2 separate regions of the Homo sapiens genome follow, and region 1 is linked to region 2. Evidence: promoter capture Hi-C in human tissues and cell types (Jung and others, 2019). All regions are on one chromosome and are shown on one strand. The core of a region is centred on a gene start or on the middle of the fragment in contact, and the rest is flanking DNA. Distances in the headings are between cores, read along the strand shown.

The links. The method cuts DNA at HindIII sites, captures the fragments that hold promoters and counts their contacts. A contact is called where the count stands out against the background at its distance.
Region 1: the fragment with the promoter of TAF6 here is called in contact with the fragment with the promoter of PVRIG in region 2 in 5 of the 25 tissues and cell types used here (IMR-90 fibroblasts, liver, mesenchymal stem cells and 2 more).

What each region holds. Positions count from the first base shown.
Region 1 is chr7:100,118,041-100,121,617 of GRCh38, reverse strand. TAF6 (TATA-box binding protein associated factor 6) reads left to right here and starts at 2,260. Exons shown (of 15, transcript NM_139315.3): 1 at 2,260-2,414. CNPY4 (canopy FGF signaling regulator 4) reads right to left here and starts at 1,984. Exons shown (of 6, transcript NM_152755.2): 1 at 1,756-1,984. The coding sequence starts at 1,873. RefSeq lists enhancers at 1,288-1,357, 1,728-1,947, 2,158-2,307. The HindIII fragment of the contact is 13,440 bases long and covers 1-3,577 here.
Region 2 is chr7:100,218,083-100,221,321 of GRCh38, reverse strand. PVRIG (PVR related immunoglobulin domain containing) reads right to left here and starts at 1,373. Exons shown (of 5, transcript NM_001397246.1): 1 at 1,294-1,373; 2 at 858-1,208; 3 at 649-775; 4 at 502-562; 5 at 1-394. The coding sequence starts at 1,351. The coding sequence ends at 71. It also overlaps a transcript of STAG3 not described here and the pseudogene CASTOR3P. RefSeq lists a silencer at 254-303 and enhancers at 1,224-1,293, 1,354-1,483. The HindIII fragment of the contact is 32,066 bases long and covers 1-3,239 here.

The DNA.
Region 1 (3,577 bases), core at 1,011-3,510, 100 kb after region 2:
CAAAAACTAGCCAGGTGTGGTGGTGCGCACCTGTAATAGCTACTCGGGAAGCTGAGGCAGGAGAATCACTCGAACCCAGGAGGTGGAGGTTGCAGTGAGCTGAGATCCCACCACTGCACCCCAGCCCAGGCAACAAAGGGAGACTCCATCTTAAAAAAAGTAAAATACATTAAAAATAAATAGGCCAGCACAGTGACTCATGCCTGTAATCCCAACACTTTGGGAGGCTGAGGTGGGTGGATCACGAGGTCAAGAGATTGAGACCATCCTGGCCAACATAGTGAAACCTTGTCTCTACTAAAAATACAAAAATTAGCTGGGCATGGTGGCGGGCGCCTGTAATCCCAGCTACTTGGGAGGCTGAGGCAGGAGAATCGCTTGAACCCGGGAGGCGGAGGTTGCAGTGAGCGAGATTGCACCACTGCACTCCAGCCTGGGCAACGGCATGAGACGCTGTCTGAAAAGAGAAAAAAAAAAAAAAAAAAAAAAAAAAAAAAAAAATATATATATATATATATATATATATAAAATTAATACAATTGGATAATAATAGTATGTCCCTCATAGGAGTGTGATGAAGATTAAATAAATCAACATATATAAAGGCTGGCACATAGTGAGCACTGTATAAGTATTCACTGTTATCCTGCAGTTATTTATTGAGCTCCTTCTGTATGCATACTAACAATATAGACAGCAATAAGACCTATTATCTCTATCTACAGGTCTCTGTCAGTGTAGTTGGGACAGATAAACCAAGGATGACAAGCTGTGGTGAAGCTGGGCCTGAACTCATGGGCTCAAGTGATCCTCCCACCTTGGCCTTCCAAAGTGCTGGGATTACAGATGTGAGCCACTGTGCCCAGGCCCGTTGGCTGTATTCTGATAGAAGGCCTGCAGAGGTGTTAAAGCAAGGACTGATACAATTAGGTGATTAAGTCTGTTTAAAAAGATTGACAGGTCAGGGGAGAAGAGCGGCACACGGAGGTGAAAGGAGACAGAGATGAGGACCAAGTCATGAGACTGTCATGACTGCCTTTCATGATACTGGAATACAGTTGAGGGGGTGAAGCGAAGAGAAAAGGAATCCAGGGAAGAAACGTAAAGTCAGGAGGGCAGCAAACTAGGGCATCAGGGCCAGCCCCCTTTCTCAACTGGGCCCCACGCTAGTGCAGCTATGGAAGGCGCTGCTTGCTGAAAAATCCATATAGTACGCACCGTCTGCAAAGTCTCACCGGATGGGGACACTCTCCTAGTTGTGTGGCTTCCTTTTGTTTATGAGCTTCAAAGGCTGAATTACTCACCCTCAAACCCCCTCAGCGGGGTGTGGGGCCTGTAATTTGGGAGCGTCTATGCTAGGGTAGGGCAGCGGATGTCCACAAGGCCTGAGCCTCACACCCGGCTCCTGCAGCCTCTGCAGATTAAGGTCTGGTGACATGAGGTAAACACTCACTGAAGATGCTCTAAAAGTTGGCAGTCCCGGGCCGATGGTCCCTGAACTACAATTCCCACAATCCATTGGCGGGCGGGGGGTTCCAAGCCAGCCAAAAAAATGCAGGCTCTCTCTGGATGCAGTTTGAGGTGGCACTACACGTTCGCTTCCTTGACCCCATCCAAATTCAGCCAAGCTCCACCAGAACCTCCCTCAAGCCTTCAAGGAGGTCGGGTGACCCACCCAATACAGGCTAGGATGTCCGGCCTAGAAGAAGGAGGTGTGGCCGGGCGATGCCTATAGGGGCTACCCCCTTCAAATACCTTCGCATTTGCTGGGCAAGCGTTCTGTGTCATCGTCCTCCTCCTTCAACATCCCAGCCCAAGCCTCGTGCACGGCCAAAAAAAGGAAAAGCAATATTCCCAACCGCACAGGTCCCATGACAAAGCGCCGTCTACAAACAATCACCGCTTGCCTTCAACTTCGGGAAGGTAGTGTGGGTCCCTTAAATTCCCAGGCGGCTAGCGGCAACCTTAAATCCAGCCGAGGAAGGTCGGCGCATGCGCAGGATCAGCCCAACAAGGGTGGGGCCTCGTTGCTACGGGTTTCCCTGCCTCCGTTTTGTGGCGCCTCTTGAAGGTCCTGGCAGCCGGGTAGTGAAGGAATAAATTGCAGTAATTACACCAAGAGGGAGTGCTCCTTATATATAGATGTAGAAACAAACTTTTAAAATATAATTTCATTCTGCGAGCCTAGAGGACTTATTCTGGTACGGGGAAGGGGCAGTGACTTGCTCTTAGGCTCTGCCAGGACCTGCTCCCACGAGGGGGCGGGGCCAAGATGGCGCCGAGCGCCGGGTGAGCAGCGTCTCGGCTGCCGCTAGAGTTTTCCTGCTCCCCGCGCTCGGGTGGCGGGGGCGGGTCTGAGTGGTACCCCGGAGGAGACCCTTTGAAGGTCCCTTGTGGGGACTGGAAAGAGGACGGTTGGTTGTGTGTCTGTGCTCGTGGGGACCCCGTGTGTGTGCCTGCATTGGAGAGATGTTGCAGGAGATGGGGTGGGCTCTCTGAACCTCCTTTCGCGCTGCCCGGGGATCTTCGACCTGCTTCTCTGCTGGGATCTCGCTTAAGTTAACCCTTCCCTGGGACGCCTTCCTGCCGCCTCCACTGATCTGAGGAGATCCTGTGACTGTAGCGTGTTTTATGAGCCTTTACTGGCAGAGGGTACCGCCGGGTATTGAAGGATTCGTAGGAGTTCGCCAGGGAAGTGGGACACGACCCCCTCTTGTAAACCCGGCGCCAGGCACAGAGTATGTCTCGAATAGTTGTGTTCCCTATAGATAAGACTTATAAAAGTCGGGGAGGAGATCAGGGATGGTTTGAAAAGAACCAATTTGTTTTTCGGCCTCCCTCTTCCCATCCTTCCAGCACGGCCCCACCCTACCTGTACTACTCCTAAGCAGTATTGATATGTTAATCTTCCTAATGTCCAACTGCAAGTGTGCCACTTTAATTTTTTTTTGTTTTTTTTTTGAGACAGGGTTTCCGTCTGTTACCCAGGCTGTTGTGCAGTGGCACCATCTTGGCTCACTGCAGCCTCCAACTCCTCAGTTCAAGCGATCCTCCTGCCTCAGCCTCCTAAGTAGCTGGGATGACAGGTTCACACCACCAGGTCCGTCTAATTTTTTAATTTTTGCAGAAATGGGGGTCTCACTATGTTGACCAGGCTGTCTCAAACTCCTGGCCTCAAACAATCCCCCCACCTCTGCCTTCCAAAGTGCTGGGATTACTGGGGTGAGTTACCTCTCTTGGCTCCAATTTGCTTTTTTTTTTTTTTTGAGATGGAGTCTCTCTCTATCGCCCAGGCTGGAGTGCAGTGGCACGATCTCGGTTCACTGCAACCTCCGCTTCCTGGTTCAAGCGGTTCTCCCACCTCAGCCTCCCAGATAGCTGGGACTACAGGCGCCCGCCACCATGTCTGGTTAATTTTTGTGTTTTTACAAAAAGACAGGGTTTCACCATGTTGGCCAGGGTGGTCTCGAACTCCTAACCTCAGGTGATCTTCCCGCCTTGGCCTCCCAAATTACAGGCGTGAGCCACTGCACCTGGCTCCACTTTGCTTTTTTTGTTTTTTTTTTTTTTTTGAGAC
Region 2 (3,239 bases), core at 124-2,623:
AGAATTAAAGTAAGGGGGTGACACCCAGGAGGCCTGGGAGGGGGAAAGCCCAGTGGCCTCATGGTCTCTCTCATCGAACTCCTAAGGGTCCTTCCATGGCCCTGGGCCCCCGAGGGTCAGGGAAAAGAGTGAGGCCGGGACCAGTGTGAGGAGGCCTCTCCCCTGCCTGAGCGTAGAGTCCATTCTCAACAGAGACAAAGCTGCCACGTGCAGGGATGGGTGTGGAGGCCCAGGCGGCAGGGCCCTGGGGCCGGTGTGCAGCGTGGGTGGGGAGTGACGCCCACCAGGACGGCCCCCCATGGGGGTGAGCTGTGTCCAAAGTAGCTGGGCGGCAGCTGGTGTTGATAGTGGCATAAGGGACGTGAAGAGCAGCCTGGGAGGCCTGGCTTGGTGCCTGCGCGGGGGAAGGAGGGTCAAGTGAGTCTGCACAGCTTGGGCCCAGCCCTGGCCCCCCTGCCCCTGCCCCTGTCACCTCATCCCCAAAGCAGGTCCCCTCCTCACCCATGCTCGTGCTCTCGGTGCCTGGGGGCTGGTGCGGGACGGCTGGAGCCTAGGGGCAGGGCTGGGAGAGAGCAAGGATGGTCAGAGCTCTGCAGGGCATGTGGCCATCCCAGTGTCAGGGGGACGTGGACAGGGACCAGGTCTCACCGGTGCTTATGTCGGCGCAGCAGATGAAGGAGGTAGACACAGCCAAAGAGGAGGACTCCTGAGACCCCCAAGATCCCGGCCAGGTCTGCCCGCAGAATGGGGGCAGGAGTCGGCGGGGCAGAGAGCCCTGGGCACGGAGACAAGAATCAGATGGGTGGCCAGTTCCCGAGCCCCTCCCTGCCCTCCTGGACCCCTCGCCCCGGCCCCACCTGGGTCTGAGCTGGGCGGGAGGCTCCCACAGGCCTCCCAGGAGCCCTCAGGGAAGGACGCAAACTTGCAGCAGAAGGTGGTGTTGGCGCAGGGGCTGCTGGCCCCAGAGCCTTCCAGGATGAGAGAGATGCTGCTCTGGGTTTCCCAGCGGGCCTGGCGAGCAGGGGCCCATTGCCGGATGCCACGTTCTGGGTGCAACACAGCCAGCGTGGTCCCCCCAGCACCGTTGGGGCCCCCCCAGCTCACAGTCACCAGGGAGATGGAGCCAGACCCCAGGAACCCACAACGGATGGTGAAGGACGAGAGCTCGGTGGCCTCCATCCGAACTTGAACCCACACCTCCGGGGTCCCTGTGGAACAGCAGCAAGGTCGGTGGGCTGTTGTCCTACATCACCCTCCCTGCAGCCCCTGCCCCTCTCTGGTGCCGGCACTCACCCGCAGTGACACACAAGGTCAGCAGCACCCAGGGCAGGACCAGGGTCCGGTGCCCCATGGCCCCCTCCAGTCCAGGTTCTGGGGGCTGCAGGGCCGGCACCTGTGCCTCTGTTCTCATCGCAGGAAGTCTTCATGTTGTCAGCAGCCAAACAGCCACTTCCTTCTCTCCTCTCACACCTTCCCCAGAGGTGGTGAGCACAAAGTGGCTGATTCCCTTCTTAAAGTGACAGTGAGGGCCTGCTCAGTCCCCAAGGCTGTGCTTCCAGGTAACAAGGCAGGGCGGCACAGGTGGGTGAGAACCCAGCCCTGGCTAGGCCTGGGGAGGCCAGGGGAGGGGCAGAGAAGCTGTCAGGGGCTAGAAGGACTCCCCTTCCCTGGACAGCAAGGGGTGCCGGGCTTCCCTAAGAAAGGGCTCTGTCCCGCCCCTCACCCAGCTAAGGAATCGGAGGAGAAAGCCCCTGGGAGTGGGAAGCCAGCAGGGAGGACCTGAGAGCCAGCCCAGCATGCATGACCCACTACCAATCTGATGTGGGTCCCACGCTTACACCTGCAATGCAGGCCTCCCCCACAACCCCCAGCCTGGCTCGCCCACTACCCACTCATACCTCCTGATCTACCCTGAACGCACCCCATACTGGGCTCTGCCCCAGGCGCTGTCTCCTCGTCATAGGTGATGGCAACTGGCTTCTGGCTGCTCGGGCCCAAAGCACAGCCACCAGTGCCTCTTCCCTTTCACTTCCAACGCACCAAGATTGTGTCAGCAAACAGCAGTCCTCTGCCCTAGCAGTGCAGAAGCCAGGAGTTGAACCCATGTCTCTCACCAGGTTAAGCTGCCTCGCTAAGTTTGGATGTGACCTCAGAAACAGAGGCTACTCCAGCAATACAAGATACTTTATTTTTCGGCTTCTACCTATGCCACCCAATCCCTTCACTGGGCCTAACTTAGTGAATCAAATTAAGTATATTTCCCTCCAAGTTGCCCCAGGATTCTGGGCTCCTTTGCACACTACAGGTTTTCTCTAAACGCCCTGGGTTTATCTATCCTTTGGTGAATTTTCAACTCTTCTTATTTCTCTGCCCTGTCCTGACCAAAAATCTTCAGTGCCTGTTTCTCTCTGCCATCCAAATCCCACACACATCTAGGGGTGAATCGGTGAATCTGCGCTGATGAGTGACACGTTTTGTGAATCCTTTCTAGGATCTCAGTATTTCATCCTATCCCGAGGGAAGGCTCTAAAGAGCTCAAGGAAGACCTCACGATGTCTATGTGTGAGAAGAAACCTTTCACCCCTTCACTATCACACCCCATCATCCAAGCACACACTCCTCTTTCATCCCATAAACCCCAGTCAGTGTCACCTGGAGTTATAAGGATGCGGTGACTTACCTAGTAACGGAAGACTCTCAGTAATCTGAAAAAGAAAAATCCCTTCACTTTATAACTGAGGAGATAACACCAACAAGTCACTTCCAGCAGAGCTCATGGCCACAGTGCAAGTTAAAAAAGGTAAAGCCTTATTGAAAATAATCTTAAAACAATTATTCAATATTAACAGACAATGCCCAGCAGTGCCATGTGGGAGGCAAGCCACCCAGCTGCCAAGGCAAGAGACCGAGGGCACAAGCTGTTCCAGTATAATAAAGAAAATACATAGAATAAGAATAGTTATACTAGAAATAGATTATAGCTATGATTATATATATTACTAATCATTAGTTTATAGCATAACTCTTTATTCCAATATTATAATAATCTTTGTTCTACAATTATAACCTAGGAAAAACCAGGCCATACAGAGATAGGAGCTGAAGGGACATGCTGAGAAGTGACCAGAAGGCAGGAGTGTGAACCCTCTGTCATGCCCGGACAGGGCCACTAGAGGGCTCCCTGGTCTAGTGGTAATGCCAGTGCCTGGGAAGGCACCCGTTACTTAGCAGACCTTGGT